Linked DNA regions of Homo sapiens: regions 2, 3 and 4 are each linked to region 1. Evidence: promoter capture Hi-C in 16 types of primary human blood cells and fetal thymus (Javierre and others, 2016). All regions are on one chromosome and are shown on one strand. Each heading gives the region's core, a stretch centred on a gene start or on the middle of the fragment in contact. The rest is flanking DNA. Distances are from core to core; before and after follow the strand shown.

Region 1 (5,775 bases), core at 616-3,115:
TTCTCTTTTCCTAAGCAACTGTATGTTTAATGACACAGCAACAATTACTATGAAAGCAGGTATCCAAACTAAAATTTTTTGATTAATCAAATATTTTCCCTCACTTCCATTTTTCCCACTTGGTGGCATATAGAAACATATCCTCTTTTCCATGACCGTGGACCTCCTTACAACTGTCTGCTGTACATGTATCCCATGCACAAATCTGGGAACAATCTTCAAGAAGTTCATCTTAGAACTTGCAACTCCCTGGGAGGATCTCCCTGCCTGGATTTCTATAGTTAACGGAAATCCAGCCATACTTATCACTCGAGGCCCTGAGATGTTTACGGTACTATAAATTTTAGGCACAGTTTCAAGTTCTCTGCAGCAGAAGGCAGGCTTTTCTGTGCATTGCGTACTGTGGATTCTGTTCTTAATTTAACACACTCTGCACACTGTGATTATGATAGTGGTAAATTCACTGAGGCAAGGGCCAAGCAGGGCTGCAGATGGATAGGAAAGGTTCTCTGGCATCTTTCTATAAACTTACGAGGATGCTGGCCATGATGATGGTGGCGGTGGTAAGGGGAGTTCCTCTGACTCCGACCTCATGTCTTTGGCAGGAGTTGAAATGAATAATAAAGCTGGGTTTATGATTAGATAGAATACCAGAGCAGAGAGAGCAGTTAGAGGGAGAAGCTGTCTTATTTTAGGAAGCATGATGACTTATTTTTTCAAAATCTGAATTCGATATTCCCCTTTGCTAAGAATTGGTGTGGGTTTTGTTGTTGTTGTTTGTTTCTTAACAAAATAAAAGAGAAGAAGATTCCCATAAGCAGAGCTTAATCATTTAAATCTAAAAAGGCAATCAGCAGTTGATTTTAGGGTGGCAGGGTCCTGCCAAGGCCTTAGGAGAAGGCCGAGGGAAACCTCCCAAGCCTTGGATAACTAGCCTGGAGGGTGTGCAGGTTTCCTCCAGCTTGGGCACATCTGCCTTGCCCCATAGAGAATGTTAACAAGATACCTGCTGTTTTCCCTTCTGCCTCTATGCAGGACAGCTTCTGAAATCCTAAACTGCACAGGGTGTCACTCCAAAAACAGACAGATAGTAGCTGCTAAATTAGAGAACCCAGAGGGCACAAGGTTGGGTTTTGTTTTTCTAGGAAAGAGTGTAAAACTGGAGTGTCTGACTAGTGCCCCGGATAGGGAGGCTTAATAGGTTTGGGGTAACTCATCCCCATGAGCTCTGCTCTACTCTCATCCACACCTGCCAGAAGGGGTCAGGGTGAAGCCGATGGACAGCAGTGCTGACCCGCATGCAGTGGACTTTCCATGAATAACACCCAAGGCTGACTACAGATGTTTAGGTGGGGGTGCCGAGGGAGGGTTACTTGGCTGACTAGAATTAGGGACAGCCGTGTGCAAATTGCTTTTTTAGGGCCAGAGAGGCTGAGGCTGCTGGCTTCCAGTCACACAGCCTACAGGACAGCCCCTGATTTCACAAGAGCAGGTTTCTGATGCATGATCTAGCCCCACCCCTTCTTCACAGGCAGCTGTACTTGGAAGCAAATGATTTAGTGTTCCTGAGAGAGGATTGTACAAAGAGAGTACTCATTAGAGGGGGCTCAATCTGTCAGGTGCTGTTATATTAGGATCAGAGAGTCATCATAAAATGACTTTCATGCTGGTCTTGGCTGATAATTAACTGCATGGCATCGCCTGCGTATTGTAGAGAGGCAAGGGTGCTGATTTATGCATCCGTTTAATTATCTGAATTGAAAGACTCTGTTCCCTGTATTTGCATCCACTGCCTGCGTGCTTTCTCTCTCCCCCATATTTCTGACATTTGGATTTTCCCCCTACTAATTGACATGCCTGTCGCCTCCTTCTCCTGGTGTCCATTTCTGGAACTGCTATTTGTATATTGCATGATATTTTATCAGGAAAAAATATAAAACAGATCTAATTTCATGAAAATGCTGTTGCCATAATGCTCAGGAGAACAGGGGGAAGAGAGAGATTCAAGTCTTCCTAATGTCTACCTTATATGCAGGTACATTTTACAAGTTCTATTGTATTCTGACTTATTAAGCAGTGCATATTTCTTTCTTTTACATTAGCTTTCATTGCAGAAGGGTGTGGGGAGATGAGACTGCTGGAAACTGACGTGGGATTGATGTTTATCAGGGCTGTAGGCTTCAGAAATATATTAAGCCTCGGAATGTCCTAGGTATGAAAAAGATAATAAATAACAGGTCAATTTATTATATTCCCTTTATCTCTATATTACCTGAGAGAGATTGCTATACTGCAGTGACACTTTCAAGATGCCCCAATCCTCCAATCTCCATGCATAACAATTTGAAAAAGGGAAGGTTGACTAAGGCTGGGATGTTCAGGATCAATTTCTAATCAGTTTCAGGTTTTACTCAAATATCTCATGCTGTAAACTCTTGAAATGAATGTCTTCCCATAGTGCGCCGTGAGCAGGTTCTGCATTAGTTTGTACAGGTGCGACCTAGGTTCCTGCACTATTACCTAGCTAACCAGATATAGCTGGTTGCTTTGCGAACCTTTCATTACCTGCTCTCTAATAATATTCTTTTCATCCTCTGTGCTATTTTTTCCCTCCCGAGGCTTGTGAGCAAGGCTGTATCACAGCCTGCTCTGCCTGAGTAATTCACTAAGAAAGTCCCACGCAAACCCATGTGGGTGATAATATTTCATCACTTAAACCTCTATGAGCTTGGTGGACACATACCAAAGAGAGAGAAAAAGAGGTGCAGAAAAATGGGCAAAGAGAAATTTTGTACCTCACAGGGAATACCTCTGAAATGCTGCTGGGTGGGAAGGATTGGACAGAGGAGAGACTGTGTAAGCTGGAAGGAAAGATAGCTGGAAGGGTGTTTGCAGCACATTTTCCTTTGCTTTCAGAATTTTAAAAATGTTTTGAATAAGTCAATCATGAAGGCATGGCAAGGGTTAAGCAACTAAGCCCCTTGTTGTTCCCTCCCCCTACACTAAGATGCAAAATGCTGGACTCATCCAAAAGTCCAGCATCTCAGATTTGTGGGTCTATGAACATTTTCAGTTAAATAAGCAACACACACATGCAGTGTTTCGATTTGGTTTTGTTTTCCTCACCAGGGTCCTGCTTAAAATATGTTGCTCTTTTACATATGGGCAATAGTTATGTCTCTAATGTGAATGTGGAAAGCCTCGTTGTTTATAGAACACATTTAAACTTACCATGGGATGGGGGCTGGGGGAAGCCTCCCTGTAAAAAGCGTCTGTTCCTTTAATTTTCCATTCTTCATCAAGATTTCACTGTGCCTAGATATGGTATAGTCAATGGTAAGGGTATACACAACTACCATTTACAGGGTGCATTCTCTGAAGCCCTAACTTTGCATTTGGACTGCTTCCAGGGGTTTCTGCAGAAAGCAGCAAGTGAGGTCTTAAGGTTATTCCTCCTTTGACCTACAGTAGAGGATCTTTCCTGCAGTAGAACTATAGGTTTGGCCATAAATTATCTTGATTAATTTTTTAGCTTTAATTTCCCTCCTTAGGGTCCATTATTGATTTATAAATGCCCTGGCACAAACGTCCATCATCCATGCCTCTTCCATTAAAGTGGTGATGAAAAAGGTTAAATATTTTGGGAGAAAGGGGTTTTAGGTTCCTACAAGTAGCAAAAATTCTTAAGGTTTAACCCACAAAATTTCAGAGACTTCTTCCAAAGTTCCTGAGAACTTTGGCACTTCTCATTTTGGACTTAGGAACCAGTCGAGTACGAAGAATTCAGAACTACAGCTAGGAGATCACGTGCAAGTATTTTTTAGCAGAAGAGGGGCCAAGACAAATATGTGTTTTCAAGAAAAGTGCCTGGGAAGGTATTACTGCAGTTCTTTAAATATTACAACGGACTTTCCACCCTGGCATCTCCACCACCCCCAGCCCAGTCCATCCACTGCACAGGCCGCAGACCACTATTAATCTCTTTTCCCATCTTTCCCACCATTTCTCTCCACACCCTCAGTTCGGAAACAAACGCATCCTCAGAAGCCGAACACCATGTTCCCACAAGGCATTACAGAAAGAACCTTTTTCCTCCCTGTTTGAAGTCACTTGTCATTTGTCGCTGGTGGAAACTGTTGATAAGGCAGGAAAACTAGGCAACAAAATCAGGGGAGATGGAAGATGTTTTTGTTACGACCCGGGAGACCGTATTAGGGAGAGACTTGTGAGCAAATCAGTATCGCTGATGATTCATAGTCACATTTCTCCCTGCTCCGCTTTGTTTGCTTTTGAAATTTATCACTCGTCTGCCTTCCATAGAGCTCCGGAATGTTCACATGTATCACTAGAATTTCCATTTCCTTTCCTTCTGTCTCATTTAATGTATTACAGGTAGTCATGCTTCTCCCATCTCATAAATTCCTAACTTTTTCTGCAGGATGAGAGGGAGCAGGCGGTAACTGATAATCACCAAGATTAGGGCGCTACAGACAGGGGCTTCCAGTACGCGCAACTGCCTTTCCCTGGATACACTGACAAGGAGCAAAAGTCTTTGGAACGCGCCCTCTTGTGGCCGCTCTTCCCCATTATTCACGGAAGAGAGCGTGTAACCCCTAAAGGCATCCCTAAAGGAGGGGTGATTCACAGAAAAGTTCGGAAGGTGGGATTGGAATGGTGGGAGTCAGCTTCATTTTGAGATGGCTTTCTTGGGGTGGGGAAAATGGTCATCCAAGCAAAGCTTCTTGGATCCCTGTCTGGGCAGTGCAAACTTCTAACTCAAATCTTCCATACATAGTATCCTCCAAGGGGTAGACTTATGTGTTGCGCTTAACAACACCTAGGCTACGTGAGCACATCCATTTCTTGGTGTGTCATTTGTCTTTCTTTCCCTATTCTTTCTACAACAAGTGCTATCAATTGCTAAGCTAATTACCAGAACCCACATCCAGGTTTGACAGCATATGGAGACTTAGAGGTACATTATTATTATGCATTGATTGACCACCTACTGTCATGAGTCAAAATAAAATAAAAATAAGCTGCATCAGCTGAAAAGGCCACTGAATTTAGCTTCATGACATTTATAGTGATAGCTTGGCTTTACCCATCCCTTCTATCTTTCCTTGTGAAGAACTCTGTAGGCCTTAAGGTAAAACATTGAGGGTTTTGTGCCAGCCATGCAAAGAACACACTAACCTTGGTGAGAAATCTTGGGTGATGTGACATATATAAAAATAAAATAATTTTTGTTTGTTGGGATACATTTCAGAGAGCCTTAGAGTGATTCCCTGCTGTTTAGTCAATAACAACTCGCATCAACTTTACAAAAATTGAGCACTTTCTACCTAAACAGGATGGGACAAACTCAGTTAAAAGAGTCCTCAGCACTTCAGCTTTTGGAGGCTCTCTACTTCTGTAGCCAGGCCTTGGCTTTATCCAACAATCAAGGAGAGAAAAGGCAAAAATTAAACGTAGCCTCAAATTGAAGAATCTTGAGGTTGAAAGGGGCTGCTATGGGTCTGCATCTGTGGCATGCTCATGGGTGACAATGTCTGGATTCTATGCTGCACAAAATGGTTATAAGGGAAAGAAAAATGCATTCCTTTTTCTATTCTCCAAAAACTCTTGACATTCCACATAGTTGGAATGTTATTAAAGTTGAATTATTCCAAAAGCAACAAGACATAGGTCTTTTCTATTCATGTTCATATATTTGCTACAATCATTTGGATGATAAATGTCTTTTCTGGACTAGCAAAATCAGCAGCAAAATGC
Region 2 (5,549 bases), core at 2,541-5,040, 1.1 Mb before region 1:
TTACTTGCTTTTGCTTTGAGGGTCATATTAACTTCAGCACCAAAGCTGGTCCCTTGGAATGCCTTTCAGTCCTCCTAAGAATGGATTCATTTTATAAGAGTTCCTGTATGAGCATGATTCTGGGTAATATAAGTCACCTTATTGATTACAAGTTTTCATTCTCTTCCTCCAAACTGCCCGTCTGATTTTCTTTAATATTCTCTCTTACTCCTTGTAGAAACAAACTTAAAACCCAATTGCTTTTGATTTCTAAGCTAAGTTTCCCCAGGCTTACCAGCTTGTTGATAATACATAATAAACTGTAGTATTGCTTTCTACCCACTGGTGTAACTCTGGGCCTCTAGCTATACCTTCAAGCAGTCCTTTCTTATTTTCCTCACTCTAGCTCCCCTTACTGGAGTCCAAATCCCAGGAAGTCAAGTAGGGGTAGTGCCTGAGTGGGAGTGCTATATGGATACTGGTCTCAGCATTCAAAGAACCGGCACCATGTGCTCTGGAAGCCCTTCCAAAGTGCCCGTAGGGTGCCGGGATACCTGCGTTTCTCATTGTGAGGAGGCTGCACCAGGTCACATGTGAGGAGAATGCTTCTCTTCCTCTTTGCAGTTATATTTTGTCTGTTGGGCTCTGGAGAAACATTTCTTGTGCCCGTCAGCAGTTCTTCTTTCTATGGGACTGGTACTATGACCCATACCTGAAGTTGAAAGCAGTCTGTTCTGCCAGTCACAGCCTCTTCCTGGATGTGTCTGCAAAACCATTTCATTATTCTTTTTCAGGAACCTTCCCCCAAACAAACAGAGCAAAAATTTCCAACAACAGAGTTCCTGTTCACTCATTTCTTATGTGTGTGTGAATCCCAATGTAGACTCAAGCTGGATTTCTGTGCATCTAAGAAAGTTACTTCATGCAAGTCTCCCATTAGCCCAACCAACAAAGTTGTGCTGGAAACACTTTCACCCAAATCCCAGGCATCATTGTGGCTAGATGAATGGGTTACCAGGGCTGACTGATAACACATGGTTTGCAGAATGTCATCTAAGGTATTCATTTTGTTAATGTTACAAGGTTTATTAGAGAACCTCTGTGCATCTGCTTAATCTCCAGGGCTTTCACATCAGTTTGGGGGATATAATTGTAACAAGTTCTGTTCATTTTTCTTTGATGAGAGACATGGAGACTTTAACTTCCTAATTGATTTGAAAATTGAAGCCTCAAATACCTTTGGGAAGTAGAAATCATGAAAACCAGAGTAAACCACTTTTCTTTTTTTCTTGATCAAGGGGACATGTGAATTCAGAATTTCTGAAGAATCAAGGTAGAGAGTTTTTTTTTTTTTTTAATAAGACTTGTGGATTGGATTCAAATGAATAAGCATTCATTTCATATAAAGGGAGTAGATATGTCTGTGGCATGAGGATGATGCTCAGAATTGTCTAGTTAGAGACAATTTTGTTTTGTTTTTAAGCTATCTTTACTTTGATATGGGGGAGGGGGCAGTTAAGTACTTTTTAAGGTACTTATGTTCAACACTATGTTCCAATAGTTTTTGGTCAAAACATGAAATGTACCACTGTCATTCTAATATAGCAACATAAATGGAATACTATAAATCTGAAGCCAGTTCTAGAAAGAAAGAGGAGAAAAGGATATTTTTTAAGTCCCATATTTATATGAAGTTCAAAACTGCTTATGGTAGTAGGCAAACAAAATTTCTTTAGTTTATCTATGTGCAGGACCCTTTGAATGGCCAGATGTATTAGTAGCAAATAGTTCAGTATTTGCTATTTGGATGTCTTAGGAAATAGCTTCCAGGTGGGAATCTGTAGAGTTTGGCATTGGGGTGTACAATCTAAAAACTCCTTGTTATTCTAGTTTACCTTTTGTCTTGTATTGACCTGAAGTTCCTAGCTCATTTGATTGGCAAAGGGAGAGATCTGGGATCTGCAGACACCAGGTTCCCCTGTGGACTGTAACCGTCAAGAACACATGTCCTTGCCACAAATCTTTGAGGTACTCATGTAATGGATTTCTGAGTGATAAAATAATACTGCTTAGAAACATTTTCTGAAGGTTTTGAGTCTGTTGTGGAAATACTTACATGAACCACAAAGTACCCTGGCTTTATGCTGTGGTTCATTACCATGAAATTCCATGATGTGGAGTATCACAGGAACCTTACGCTTTGTCTTCTAGTATTTGACAACAGCAGCTCTGCATGAGAAAGCCTAAGCCTCTAAGACAAGCTTGTCCAACATGCGGCCTGCAGACAGTTCGCAGCCTAGATGGCTCTGAATGTGGCCCAACACAAATTTGTAAACTTTCTTAAAATGTGAGGACTTTTTTTTTTTTTTCTCATCAGCTATCTTTAGTGTTAGTGTATTTTATGTGTGGCCCAAGATACTTCTTCAAATGTAGCCCAGGGAAGCCAAAAGATTGGACACCCTTTTTCTAAGATCTAACCCTTCAAATAAGATCTAACCCTTCAAATTGCCAAATTCAAAGTGTATCTAAAAAAGGATTGCCCTTTGCCTGAGAGTTCGCATTTTAAAGCACTCAACATTTTCATTTAGAAATAGTTTCTTTGGACTTTTATAGACATACTCTTTCAAGTTTTTACCTTGGAGACCTCTTCATATAACAATACTTAGAATTTTAAACATGGTTTCACTTTAAGTAATCTCAGCCCAACTCTGTTGAGTGAAATAGATTTGTTTCCTCTCTCAATTGTGTCTGCTGTAATGTAGGATCAGATTATAGGTCAACCCTCAAACCATGGTTATATACTTAAGCCATGGGAAAAACCAACCAACCAACCCCCAAACCTGAGTTACTGAGGCAGTAGGATGCTGTGCTTTGCCATGGTTACCACGGGACTGAATGAAGGGGGATGAACCCAGAAATGAAAACTTAAAAGAAACTGTTTTAATGAAGGGATCTGTCGGGGGGAAGAAGAGGGCTCCCTGCTTCTGGTGAGCAAACACAGCAGCCCTGAGCCTTTACAGCCCTTCGTATTTATTGGGTAGAAAGAGCAGGGAGGAGGAGGTAACGACTGGTCAGCTGCTTGACTGATCACAGGTTCACATTATTGCTAACAGGCTTCAGATGTGTCTATTCACAAGAAACACTTGTGCCTGGGTTGTGACTGCCCTCAGTATTCCTTCTGGACCACAGACTCAGTTTGTCAGTTTGCCAACATCCTGCTTTCATGAGAACAGTTTGCTGTTTACTCATATAGCCTCCAGTGGTATACAGAGCTGATCATGACCCTCACTCTTTTGGCTTGCAACAGTAGGAAGTCATAGTGTCCTCATGAAAACCTACTGGAACTGTTTCCTTCCCTTCTGGGATCTTCTGTTCTTTTTGTCATCCATTCTAATCATTTCTAGGTGTATGTACTATCTCTCCCTTCCATGGGATTAGCAATCCCATCCTAGACATTATTCATAGTAGTGGTAGGATTTTCCAACAGGATGACACTCTTAGGATATTCTCACTTTCTTCTAGAAATGGTAGAAATTTCCCAAACAGTCTTGGGTGGCTGCTTTTCAGAACTGCAGTAGTGATGGGATGTTGGAACAAGGAGCTGGCATAGTAATTCTGAGCATAAATAGGACTGAGGGGAACAGAACTCTCATGTGAACTTCTAGGGAAGTTAAATTCTAGGATGAATTAAATATATTCTTCACTTACAGTTATCCTCTAGTTGGTGCTCATGTGTTTTTAAGAATATGTAACCTCTATTTTTCAAAGAAATGCAACCTGAGAGTATAGAAAATATGTTGATTTAAATTTGATTTTCCAAAGTTCAGACTCTATATTTACACTTGAATAATTGGATGTTAAGAGACTAAAAGGGTTTAGATACATAGGAATATGTATGACAAATGCATAATGATAGCGAAAGTGCTTTCTTTGGTATTCTTGTGTGCCCAAGGTTACCCATAAACCCAATAAAAAAGAAGTGATTTCCTCTACTTGATTTGAAGTAGTCTCTGAATTTCTAAAGACAAAGATTACATTTTATTGATCTCAGAGTTCCCAAAAGAGTCTAGTACAATGGATTAAATATAGTAGCTGTTCCATAAGTTTTTTTGTGTAATTAAGTTCCTGTATAATGAATAATACTTTTATGATTTGAAAGTAGGATAGTACTGATAAAATCTCAAATCCCTTGAGATTTTATTCTGGATTTAGATGGTTCTCAGCCTTATGGTCTGCATAAATAGTAGCCCTTAGCATTGTTCAAGGCATGAGGCCCTGGGTTTAGGGTGTAAGTCAAGTGGACTAGAAATGAGAAAAATTCCCCTTCTTATTTGGTATGTCCTGCTTTTCAAAAATAAGTTAATGATCTTGCCATGCCCTATCATAATTAGTAAGCATGAAATTTAATTTGACATTTCATGTTTGATATGCATAAACTTGCCCCACTATTTTCTATTTCTAGAATGATCTTCCCAACATGCAAATCTGCTCATGTCATTCCCCTGTTTAAAATTCCTCAGTGGCTTCTCGTGAGTTTAAGATATAGATAATATCCTTAGCGCTATTTACAGTGAGTTACACCAACCTTCATCTTTCATTATCCCCAGTCCCCACTTTGTTCTTTAGCCCATCCTGAGGTGGCCACCATTTTTCAGTAGCCATGTTCCCTCCTGCTTCTAGACCTTTGCATAGGAGTGGGGGAGGTTCCTCAATGTGGGGGTAAAATTCCGGGCAGGCTTCTCGTTTCTGTGCTTGAGGCATATTTTGAAGGAAGAAAAAAAGTATTTTGTGACATCTTTCTGAGTGTTCGCCCGAGGCCCTTGCTATCTCCTCCCTCTTAACAAGTTTCATGATTAACAGAGCAGACAAGCAATCTCCCTGCAAGGCCTATGATGGTCCCTTGCTTTTCTCAGAAAAAGCGTGGGAACTTGTAGGTTTCCTTGAATGTTACATGAATCTGCTTGGTTTATTTTGTATTTTTAATTTTTTCTTTCTAGATCACTGGCCCTTCCTCTTACATAGATCAACAGAAGCATCTGTTTTTAGAATGTGAGAGGATGTCATGTTTTCGCTCCTCTTCTACAAGCTCATTAAGTATAAATAACGTATTTAGGTGAAGGACTTTATGCCATTGAGCCTTTTAATAGACTAGTGATCTTAACGTTACACTTCCGATGCCTAAGATATTTAAACCAAATCAGTAAGAGTAGAGAGTCATTTTCATTCAGTTTGGGGACAGGGGCCTATTGAAAACCCCCACCTTGATCGTCCCTTATTCACTTACAGAAAGAAAGAATTAGAATGTAGGCTATAGCCAGTTTAGGGTGCTTTCTGTCACTGTAAGGCCAAGTAGGAGTGAGTTAAAGCTTCCTTTTCCAAGAAATCATCACACTCCTGAGTGAAGAGCCTCACCTTTGCCCTCTCCCTATTTGCTCCCAAACGGGTTTGCCTGAGAGCTTGAGGTTCACTAACACCTCATTGTGAGTGGGAAGAACAGAACAGAATGCCAAGGAGCAGGCAAGGACAGGAGGTCAGCACGCTGACCCGGATTCAAAGGCTTGGGTTTGTTG
Region 3 (6,124 bases), core at 133-2,632, 1.1 Mb before region 1:
TCCAAATCCCATGTTGTATATACAGTAACATAAGGCTCCACTGTGGCGAACTATTTACACTGGATACTTTTCTCCTGCCATTATAGCTGCCTTGGGAGTGATAGTAATGACTCTGACTTCCCAGGGTATCTTAACATTCTGCTTCCTCTCAGGAGGATCTCCTGACATTCTTGTGTAAATGGAAAAGTAGAAAACCAGGATCTTCTAAGGCAAGTGCATTGTAAATGATAATTTCATGCCTTAATCTTTTCAAAACATTTAAACTGGCTTTGATGATTCACCTTTAAACTCACCCTTCAATAGTTCTCAGAATCCTCCTTGAGAAGATGAAATTGGAATGATCCCATCAGCTCTGGCAGTTGTAGGTGGATTCTAATGGTAAGGGACTGTAGTGGGGAAAATGGGGAATTCTTAATGAGCTCCCTTTCTATTGCTGACTTGAACCAAATGTAGTTATCCTTGAACGTTTGAGGATTCTATAAGCATTGTGGTTTCAGACAGTGAGTCATAACCTTGTGCCAGAGGGGTGGGTGATATAGTATCTGGATTGATTCATGAGACATATAGTGGCTTTTTAAGGTATATTCTGAAATGAGTCTTCCAGCAGTCAGGTTTCGTTGTTGTCGTCTTTGTTTTGCCTTCTTCTCTGAAAACACAATTATTTTCTCATTCAAGGTTTGGACTTTAAAAGCTTACTTTTTCCTTGAGACACCTTTAGCTTGAGACAAATCTAGGAAGAACATCGTTTTGTGATTCTGTAGATCTTTTGACAAAGTGGATCCTCCTGCTTCAGCCTCCCTGACAATTACTTTATTTTTTGTAGAGGCGAGATCTTGATATGTTTCCCTGGCTGGTGTTGAACTCTTAGGCTCAACCCATCTTACCCCACTTGGCCTCCTAAAGTGTTGGGATTTCAGGCGTGAGCCACCACACATGCCTCTAAACTTTTTTGTTTTGTTTTTTGAGACGGGATCTCACTCTGGCACCCCGGCTAGAGTGTATTGGTGTGATTATATCTCACTGTGGTCCCGACCTCCCAGGTTCTGGTGATTCTCTTACCTCAGCCTCTCAAGTACCTGGGATTACAGGTGTGCACCACCACACCTGGCTGATTTTTGTATTTTTTGTAGAGATGAGGGTTTTGTCACGTTGCCCAGGCTGGTCTTGAACTCCTGGGCTCAAGCAATCCATCTGTCTTGGCCTCCAATGTGCTAGGGTTACAGGTGAGAGCCACTGTGCCTGGCCAACTTCTAAATTTCAATGACTTATTATTTTTTTTCTTTTACCTGCCAGACCTTGGTAATCATTTCTTCTTTTAAATTTTTTTAATATAATTGTCCAGGTGGTTCAAGATCCCCTAAAAGATGCTGTATCATTGCTTAAGGTAGAATGTCTTGCACAGAATAGGAGCTCAGTCGATGTCTGCTAATTATTAGTTTTTCCTGTTCTATATAGAATTATATAGTTTTAAGTGTTAGGCAATGTTTTTAACTTAGAACTTAAAATGGAAATCACTATGATGATTAAAATATTCTATATCCTCATTGCCCAATATGGCAGCCACTAGCCGTTTTGCTTGAGCACTTGAAGTGTGGCTTCTGTGACTGAGGAACTGGATTTAAATTTTATTTAACTGTAATTAATTTAAATGTATAAAGCCACATGTAAGTAGTGGCTGCCAGACTGGATGATGCATGCTCTAAGAATGTGCAGAATGGCAATCTAAATGTGAACTGTGAGTTAGAGAAGTCCTCCTGGAGGAAGAGGAACTTGGGTCTTGCAGAAGGGAAGCAGAGAGAAGGGGTGAGGTGTTTTAAGTAAGGAATATAGTAAAAGCTCTGAGGTGATTGACAGTGTTAAATTTGGGATTAGTTTCAAGACTGGAAGTAGAGCAGAGTTTGAGCACTAGGGACAGTAGTAATAATAACAGCAGACACTTACCAATTTACAGGCCACATACTAGTTTAATCTTCACAACAATACTCTAACTCGAAGAATATAAGTAATTTGCTCAAAGGTACAAGTTGATATTGGACCTGAGATTGGAACTCATATCTGTCTAGCTCAAAAACCTAAGCTTTTAACCACAATACTGTGCTGCCTTATGATCTGCCATGTTTAGAAAGACTTACAAGTAGGAAATAGCCTAAATGTCTTTTAACTGGTAAATGAGTAAACAAATAATGGAATACATCCAATCAATGGAATACCACTTACAAATTTGAAAAGTAACAGAACTACAGATATATGTAACAACATGGATGAATCACAAATGTATTATGCTAAGTGAAAGAAGCCAGAGGTGAAGAGCTATATACTGTATATTCCATTTGTATGACGTTCTAGAAATGGCAAAATTATAGAGACAGAAAACAGGCTCAGGAGTTGCCAGGAGCTGGCAGTGAAAGGCAGGGATTAACTATAAAGAGACACAACAGATTTTTTGGGGGACATGATGAAAATAGTGTGTATCTTGATGGTAGTAGTGGTTACATGACTATACATTTGTCAAAACTCAGAGAACTGTGAACAAAAAGGGGTGAATTTTACTGTATATAAATTGCACATCAGTAAAGTTGAATGATAAACAAAGACAGACTTACAAGTAGATCCAAGTTTATTTTCTCAATATGTTAAGTTATTGTAACCAGGCTATTTTGAAAAATAAATAATTCTAAAATTCTTGTGTCTAAACATGTCTTCATATTTATGATAGATATATAAATATATACAACACATATAATAGAAAAATGATGTAGAAATTAAAAATTCATAAAAGTGATGTGTGTGTGTACCTAAAGCAGTTAAATTTGCATTTAACATGAGTTGACACATTAAATGTTTATTCAATTTAGTGTTTATTTGTCATTGCCATGGCAAAGCAGTTGGAGGTGAAAGAGGAAGTGATGTTTTAATTAACATGATTGGTAAGATGTCATATGACTTATCCCATTTTCCTTTTATTGTGTTTAAATGAAAATAGCTACCATATGAAATCATCAATCCTTTTAAAGCTTGCTTTAAAATTTTTCAATACATAATGGAATTTTCATTTTCACTCATATTTCACTTATATAAATCACTTGTATGAGACAACAGTAAAATGGATATCTTTTAAACAGATATATTTATATCCTCCTTTTATATTTCTTTTTCTTCTTTCTTTCTGTTTTTTTTTTTTTTTTCCAGACAGAGTCTCACTCTGCCGCCTAAACTGGAGTGCAGTGGTGCAATCACAGCTCATGGCAACCTCCGCCTCCCAGGCTCAGGCGATTCTCCTGCCTCAGCCTTCTGAGTAGCTGGAATTACAGGCGTGTGCCACCATGCCCGGCTAATTTTTGTATTTTTAGTAGAGACAGGGTTTCACCAATTGGCCAGGCTGGTCTCAAACTCCTGACCTCAAGTGATCTGCCCGCCTCGGCCTCCCAAAGTGCTGAGATTACAGGTGTGAGTCACTGCGCCCAGCCCTCCTTTTGTATTTCTAAGAAAATTCTCTTTTTTTTTTTTTAATTATACTTTTAAGTTTTAGGGTACATGTGCACATTGTGCAGGTTAGTTACATATGTATACATGTGCCATGCTGGTGCGCTGCATGCGAAATAAACTTCCTGAAGGTCTTATATCACTCTGTGTTCACTAGTTTTGTTATGTATTCATAAAACTATAGATTAGTATAATTTTTAGGCAGAGAGGACCTCAAAGTATTAACTCTCCTGGTCCATTATCTACAGGAGGTAAGGGGTTATCTGTGTTTTATAATTGAAGAGGTGACATACAGAATTCTAACTTTCCCATGGTCACATTTCTAACGATTAGAGTTTTAGGTTTCAAGAGTGATTAATCTTAATAAAGAACTATAAACAATATTAATTAATGATTATGATTTAAGCATTTCATTTGATTCTTTGCTTTAAGCATTTCTCTAGGTTCAAGGTTTAATACCATCATATTTAATAATACTGCAATAATCCTGGTTAATCTTAAAATAGTGTCACTAGGGAACATGTAAATTACAGGATATGTTATTCTTTGAATGAATTTCATCTACTATTGTGGAATTTGAGGTAATGAATCTGAAAACAGTTTGAAGGCTATAAAGCACTTAACAAATGTTATTTTTTTCTTCTTTGTTTTTATCTGTCATTTGCTTGCCATTTTCCTTAGAATCTGGAGTAATATGCATACATTTGCAGAGAAAACTCATATCTGATATTTTTGCTTGCTAGGAAATAATTCTGTTTTGTACAAATAAATATATAATTATACATCAACATGTAGCACATTTTCAAAGTATGATCTAATTAAAATAATCTAAATAAAATTTTTTCTAAACTGATACAAAACCAGTAATTGGTGTCATAGCAGCTTGTCACTCTGTTTAGTAATCTTGTAGTATTGTTTAAATATGTACATATATGTGTGTGTGTGTGTGTGCTTGTGTGTGTATCCTTAAGACTGTGAGCCAAGACAATATTTTCTTATGTACCTCCTTTTTCTTCTTATAATTCCACTTTAAAATATTATCTTTATCTATTTTCTGCTACTTTAACAATGCATGAGACTGGGTAATTTATAAAGAACAGAAATTTATTCTCTCAGAGTCTGGAGGCTGAGAAGTCAAAGATTAAGGCACCAGCATCTTAGGGCCAGTTTCTCTGCTTCCAAGATGCTGCCTTGATCAGCCTTCCAAGATGCTCCCTGCCATTCTAGAGGGTAGGAATGCCAAGTCCTCACATGGTAAAGGACCAGAAGAGAGCAAACGGATTCCAGAAGCCCTTTTTATAGTGGCTTTAATCCATTAATGAAGGCAGAGCCCTCAATATGTAAACACATCCCATTAGGCCCCACCTCCCAATGTTGTTGCATTGGTGATTAAATTAAATTTCCAGCACATTAATTTTGGGGAACACATTCAGGCCATAACAGATATATAGGGAGAGCAAAAGTAGACATAAGTAAGGCCAGATAATTTACTCTTAATTGTGTTATAGTAATGTTAATATCTCCATAAATATATTTCTTAAGTTAGTGAAAACTTAAACCAAATAACAAAATGGTAAATTTGTTAATGTTACATGCATTTTAGATCCTCTAATGTATTTCAGGCATTTTGGATATATTCTTTTGATCTTTGCTCATTTCTAACTACAAGGAATGCCTCATTTCATTGTACTTCACTTAATTACAGTGTGCAGATATTGCTTTTTTAACACATTGAAGTTTTGTGGCAGCCTTGTGTTGAGCAAATCTACTGGTGCCAATGTTTGAACATATGCTCACTTTGTGTCTCTGTGTCACGTTTTGGTATTTCTCCCAATATTTCAAACTTTGTCATCATTAGTATATCTGTTATGGTGATTTGTGTTTAGTGATTTTTGATGTTACTGTAGTAATTATTCTGAGGCACTATGAACTGCACTCCTAGAAGATGCCGAACTTAATAAATATGTGTTCTGACAGCTCTAGTGATCAGCTGTTCCCCATCTCTCTCCCTCTCATTGGGCCTTCCTATTTCCTGAAAGACGATAATATTAATATTTGGTTAATTAATAACCCTATATTGGCCTTGAAGTGTTCAAGTGAAAGGAATAGCCACACATTTTTCATTTTAAATCAAAAGCTAGAAATGATTGAGCTTAGTGAACAAAGCATGTAGAAAGCCAGTATGGGCCAAAACATAGGCCTTTTATGCCAAACAGCCAAATTGTGAATGTAAAGGAAGGAAGTAAAGGAAAGAAGCCATCTTCATAACATAAAAGTGCAAAATGAAGTAGCAGGTGCTGATGTAGAAGCTGCAGCAAGTTATCCAGAAGATCTAGCTAAGATAATTGATGAAGGTAGCTACACTAAACAACAGATTATTACGGTATTCAAAGTAGCCTTCTGTTGGAAGAAGATATCATCTGGACTGTCAAAGCTAGAGAGAAGTCAGTTCCTGGCTTCAAAGCTCAAAGGACAGGCTGACTCCTTTGTCGGGGCTAATGTAGCTGGTTACTTTAAGGTGGAGCCAATGCTCCTTGACAATTCTGCAAATCTTAGGGCCCTTAGGAATTATGTCAAATCTACCTTGCCTGTGCTCCGTACATGGAACAACAAAGCCTGGATTACACTGCGTCTGTTTACA
Region 4 (5,973 bases), core at 131-2,630, 1.4 Mb before region 1:
TTGTATATTTTCTTTGGAGAAATGTCTATTGAGATCTTTTGCCCATATTTAAATTAGGTCATTTTTCTTGTTATTTTTGCGTTGTAAGTGTTCTTTAAAAATTCTGGGCTGGGTGTGATCGCTCATGCCTTTAATCCCAGCACTTTGGGAGGCCCAGGCCAGTGGATTGCTTGAGCCCAGGAGTTCAAGACCAGCCTGGGCAACGTGGGGAGACCCTGTCTCTACAAAAATACAAAAATTAGCTGGGCATGGTGGTGTGCGCCTGTGGTCCCAGCTACACGGGAGGCTGAGATAAGAGAATTGCATGAACCCAGGAGGTGGAGGTTGCAGTGAGCCGAGATTACACCATTGGATTTCAGCCTGGGTGATGGAGCAAGACCCTTTCTCAAAAAAAAAAAAAAAAAAAAGAAATTCTGTACAAATTTCTTATCAAGTACATGATTTACTAAACTTTCTCTTATTCTTTGGGTTGTCCTTTCACTTTCTTGATGGTGTCCTTTGAAACACATATTTTTAATTTCAATTATGTCCAATTTATTTTTTCTTTTGTTGCTAGTGCTTTTGATGTCATATCAAAGAAATTATTGCCAAATCCAATATCATAAAGATTTACTCCTATATTTTCTTTTGTTATATAGTTGTAGCTCTTAAGTTTAGATTTTTGGTCCATTTAGAGTCAATTTTTGTATGTACTGCAAGGAGGGGATCCAACTTTATTATTTTCACCATTTTTTGTAAAGACTCTTCCAATTGAATTGTGTTGGCATATTTGTCAAAAAGTAATTGGATGTAAATGTGAGAATTTTTATTGTTTATATGTCTGCCTTCCACCAGTACCATGCTGCCTTTATTACAGTAGCTTTGTAGTAAGTTTTGAAATCAGAATTTGTGAGTCCTCTAACTTTGTCTTTTTCTAGATTGGTTATTCTTTGTTTATGGTATTTCCATATGAATTTTTAGGATCAGATTTTATTTCTGCAAAAAAGGTATCTAGGATTTTGGTAGGTAGAATTGCCTTGAATATGCAGAGGAGTGTGGGAAGCATTGCCATATTAACAATATTAAGTCTTCTGCTCCATGACTGTGAGATGTCTTTTGGTTTATTTTTGTCTTAATTTCTTTCAACAATATTTTATTATTTTAAGAGTATAAGTTTGTACTTCTTTTGTTAAATTTATTTCTAAGTATTTTATTCTTTTTTATCCTATTATAAATTGAATTACTTTCTTTATTTCATTTTTTGTTTGTTTATTGCTAGTGTGTAGAATACAACTGATGTTTGTATATTGGCTTTTATCTTGCAATCTTGCTTAACTCGATTACTAGTTCTAAGAGTTTTTTAGTGGATTCCTTAGGACTTTTGATATATAAGACTGGGTCATCTGCAAATTGAGATAGTTTTACTTCTTTCTTTGCAACCTAAATTCATTTTATTTCTTTTTGTACCCTAACTGCACTGGCTAAAACCTCCAGTGTAATGTTGAATTGAAGTGGTTAGAGTGGACATCCTTGTCTCATTCTTTTAAAAAATAATTAGTTAAATTTTTTTTCTTTTGTAAAATATATAGGCGGGGGTCTCACTATGTTGTGCAGTCTGGGCTCCAACTCCTGAGCTTAAGTGGCCCTCCCTTCAGTCTCCCAAAGTGTGGGATTATAGGAATGAGCCTTCGTGCCTGGCCTCTTGTCTTGTTCTTCATTTTAGGGGAAAACATTCAGTTCTTTACTTTTAAGTGTGATCTGGGTTATGATTTTTAATAGATGCCCTTTATTAGGTTGAGAAGTTTCATTTTTTTTTAGCTTTTTAAAAATCGATACATAATAGGTGTACATGTTTTCAGGGTTCATGTGATCATTCCATACATTAATATAATCAGATCAGGGCTGTTGATATACCCATCATCACCTTAAATATTTACCATTTCTCTGTTCTAGGAACATTCCAATTATTCCCTGCTAACTATTTTGAAATGTACAGCCTTTTGATGTTAGCTATAGTCACCGTACTGATCTACTGAACAACAATTCTTATTTCTTCCATCTAAGCGTATGTTTGTACCCACTAATCAACCTCTCTTCATCTCTCCTCCCCCTACCCTTCCCAGCCTCTGGTAACCAGCAGTCTGCTCTCTATCTTCATGAGATCTACTTTGTTAGCTTCCACATCTGAGTCAGAATATGTGATATTTGTCTTTCTGTGCTTGGCTTCTTTCATGTAACATAATGTCCTCCAGTGACATCCATATTGTTGCAAATGACAGGAATTTATTCTTTGCCCAGCTAATTTTTTATGGCTGAATAATATTCCTCTCTCTCTGTCTCGCTCTCTCTCTCTCTCTCTCTCTCTCTCTATATATATATATATATGGATGTTTCAAAAACAACTGCAATGTGACATATATATATATATATATATATATATATATATATATATATATATATATATATACAGGGTCTCAGTCTTTTGCCTAGATTGGAGTGCAGTGGCATGATCATAGCTCATTCCAGCCTGGATGGAACTCCTGCACTCAAGTGATCTTTGCACCTCAGACTCCCAAGTAGCTGGTACTAGGGGTGTGTGCCACCATGCCCGGCTAATTTTTGTATTTTTTGGTAGAGACAGGGTCTTACTCTGTCACCCAGGCTGTTCTTGAACTCGTGGCCTCAAGTGATCCTCCTGCTTGGCCTCCAAAGTGTTGGGATTTATAGGCATGAGCCACTGTGCGTGAACACATTTTCTTTATCCATTCATCCTTTGATGGACACTTGGGTTTATTCCATATTTCCGCTGTTGTCAATAGTGCTGCAGTAACCATGGGAGTGCACATATCTCTTCGTGATTGATTTTCTTCTTTCTTGGATATCTACCCAGCTGTGGAATTGCTGGATCATATGGTATTATTATTATTATTATTATTATTTTTTTTTTTTTGAGATGGAGTCTTGCTCTGTTACCCATGCTGGAGTGCAGTGGCACGATCTCAGCTCACTGCAGCCTCCGCCTCCCGGGTTCAAGCAGTTCTCCTGCCTCAGTCTCCTGAGTAGCCGGGATTACATATATGTGCCACCACACCTGGCTAATTTTTGTATTTTCAGTAGAGACGGGGTTTCACCATGTTGGCCAGGCTGGTCTTGAACTCCTGACTTCAGGTGATCTACTCGCCTTGACCTCCCAAAGTGCTGAGATTACAGGTGTGAGCCACCGTGCCCAGCCTTTAGTGTAACTTTTATTGAAAAAAAATTCCACGTATAAGTGGATCCATGCAGTTCAGAACTTTGTTGTTCAAGGGTCAATGTAACTTTGAACTTGTCTCTCACTTTTAAGACATTAAATAATTTTAAATTCTAATGACAAATTTAATTTTAAGTGTATTGATTTAAGGCATTACATTACAACTTTTGACAATAATAATAGTAAACTGCCAGACATTTCCAAGTTTCATGGCAATATCGTCCTTGAAATTGTATTGAAAAGCAGGGAAAAATAAGTTTAGCTACTATACCGTCTCAGTTACTTGCTTTAAACATTATTTTGCAAAACAGTACTTTTGCAAAACAATTAACATGGTTTATGATGGGCTACAAAAAAAGGACAAATTAACTTCTGAAAATGATTCAACAGAAGCTAGACTTAATAAGGAGGTAATTGAATCACTGCATCAGCCAGATGAAGTATGAAATGTGAGTTTTTTTAGGTATTCTGTGCGATTTAAGGCTTAGCAGAATTAAAGGTAGTGACAAGTAGAAACTATCTGATATATCAATGACTAATAACAATGTTGATAATTTTGATAGGTGATTTTTATTTTGTGTCAAGTACTGTTCTAACATCTTTACATATGGGCCAAGGATTGGATTGTCAAATCAGACTGACATGAAGTGGAGATGTTAATCAATATTAAGCTTTCCTTATAATTTCAAGAATACAAGCAATCAAAAGGCTCAGAAAAAGCAGAGACATGTCTGGGACATTGAGAGAGGCCCCCGGATCCTTTCTTACTGCAATAGACAAAACTCTGTGGCCCAAAGCAGTAGATGAGGTCCTTAATGAAATATATGAGTTATTAGCAGGGAGTGTTACAGGCTGTGAAACATCTCCGTTTTATACCCAGATAGTTGCAAAGCTCATGCCCTGTGCCCAGTGCTCCATGTCCCATAAATCTTGAGATTCTCAGTTTGTTTATCATAGTAATCCTAATTCAGGGGCAGTCTGCTAACAGCTTTTTATGGGTAAATAGTCTTTTTTTAAATTATTAAGCAAACACTGTTAGTATTTTTGCCAGCTATTGGTGTGCTTACAAGGAGGTTTGACCAGATTTTTTACCTTCTTTTTTTTTTTTTTTTTTTTTTTTTGTGAGAGAGCCTCTCACCCAATAGGAGAAAAACACTGCTTTAACTCTTTCTCCCCAACAAATTAACTCATTTAAATTCAATTAATTTTTTTAGCATAAACAAGATAAAATATATCAAGAAGGAATTTAAAACATTGAAACATCAGATCGGTTTCTAAAAAATCTTTTATTTTTAGTTTGGTTAGTAGGCATTGGGGAGAGAAATGCACTGAGAAGTATATAGTAAATATAAATATTTTCCTATTACCAACAGATATTCACAATAGCAATTTATTTTATTAACTTTCTTGTGTGTATGTGTCTGCACAGTTAATAGACAATTCTTTTTTCTATTTCACATTAGAAGATTTGAGAAATCATATGATTCTTTTAATGTTTAATTATTTCTTCTTTCTCAACCCAACCTTCAAATCAGAATGGAGATCCAGTTCGCCCAGGAGTAGCTATGACTGATCTTGCCACTGGCCTGTATGCATATGGAGCTATTATGGCTGGATTGATACAAAAATACAAAACTGGGAAAGGACTGTTCATTGATTGTAACCTACTGTCATCCCAGGTAACAATCCAACTAACATTTCAGATAATGTTATAAAAACTGTGTCTGGGTTATACCTTTTCAGATCAAATTCTATGGTCACATGTACAAAAACAATACAAAAACCAACACAACAACACTGAAAACTGTTTCATTTTGATGTACTTGTTTCTTTTCTTTTTTGAGATGGAATTTTGCTCTTGTTGCCCAGGCTGGAGTGCAATGGCGTGATCTTGGCTCACTGCAACCTCCACCTCCTGGGTTCAAGCAATTCTTCTGCCTCAGCCTCCTGAGTAGCTGGGGTTACAGGCATGTGCCACCACGCCCGGCTAATTTTGTATTTTTAGTAGAGATGGGGTTTCTCCATGTCGGTCAGGCTGGTCTCGAACTCCCGACCTCAGGTGATTTGCCCACCTTGGCCTCCCAAAGTGCTGGGATTACAGGCATGAGCCACCACGAATGGCCCATGTACTTGTTTTCATATTAAAATACACGGACCATGAAGATTTTGTTGTAATGTAGACATCATTGTTGAACCCAAATTTTCCAGGCTGTTTTTACTAGAATGTGTCTGTTGCTTCTTATAAGACAAGAGATATGGTTGCTTCACATGTACTCTGTAACTTACTTTGACTTGTTTCTTCACCTTTTATGTGCCACGAACCCCTTTGGTAGTCTGGTGAAGTCTGGACTTTTCCTTGCAATTGTGTTTTTGAACACATAAAATAAGGTACTTAGGATTACAAAGGAAGCTGGTTATACTGAAATATATTCAATGGAAAAATCAATTTTGCATTATTAAAAATATATAATTTTTACTAACACATTAAACCACAATATCTAATAGTGGGTGTAACACTATTATAATTTTGAAGTCATGTTGAGCATAAGTGGTATTTCATGGTATCTGTAGTAATTGTAATATGATACAAAGATATGCATAATATTTATTCGTGATCAAGTCATAGGTACCACTAATATTCTTGTGGTTTGTCACCTACATTTATAATAGAATAAAATGCTAAATTTTAGAGGTGATGAAAATAAAGATACACTTTTTTTTTCACTTGAGTTGATTAACTCCCA

The links. Contacts are between HindIII fragments. The CHiCAGO score rates a contact against its expected background, and 5 or more counts as called.
Region 2: a contact is called between a fragment that was not itself captured here and the fragment with the promoter of INHBA-AS1 in region 1, in 2 of 17 cell types (monocytes and erythroblasts). The highest score is 5.3, in monocytes.
Region 3: a fragment that was not itself captured here is called in contact with the fragment with the promoter of INHBA-AS1 in region 1 in 1 of 17 cell types (monocytes); the score reaches 6.2 in monocytes.
Region 4: a fragment that was not itself captured here is called in contact with the fragment with the promoter of INHBA-AS1 in region 1 in 2 of 17 cell types (monocytes and neutrophils); the score reaches 5.9 in monocytes.

What each region holds. Positions count from the first base shown.
Region 1 is chr7:41,692,054-41,697,828 of GRCh38, forward strand. It overlaps INHBA-AS1 (INHBA antisense RNA 1), which reads left to right and starts at 1,866. Exons shown (of 4, transcript NR_027118.2): 1 at 1,866-2,035. All of the region lies in intron 2 of INHBA (inhibin subunit beta A), which reads right to left. The HindIII fragment of the contact is 8,944 bases long and covers 1-4,736 here.
Region 2 is chr7:40,599,405-40,604,953 of GRCh38, forward strand. The region is part of intron 12 of SUGCT (succinyl-CoA:glutarate-CoA transferase); the gene reads left to right. Among named protein-coding and RNA genes, the nearest start is that of SUGCT-AS1, 55 kb to the left of the region's middle. The HindIII fragment of the contact is 3,105 bases long and covers 2,239-5,343 here.
Region 3 is chr7:40,584,735-40,590,858 of GRCh38, forward strand. All of the region lies in intron 12 of SUGCT (succinyl-CoA:glutarate-CoA transferase), which reads left to right. The region is part of intron 3 of LOC105375244 (a long non-coding RNA gene); the gene reads right to left. Among named protein-coding and RNA genes, the nearest start is that of SUGCT-AS1, 41 kb to the left of the region's middle. The HindIII fragment of the contact is 1,386 bases long and covers 690-2,075 here.
Region 4 is chr7:40,269,749-40,275,721 of GRCh38, forward strand. SUGCT (succinyl-CoA:glutarate-CoA transferase) reads left to right here. Exons shown (of 14, transcript NM_001193313.2): 8 at 4,765-4,908. The region is part of intron 2 of LOC105375245 (a long non-coding RNA gene); the gene reads right to left. Among named protein-coding and RNA genes, the nearest start is that of SUGCT, 140 kb to the left of the region's middle. The HindIII fragment of the contact is 5,035 bases long and covers 1-3,898 here.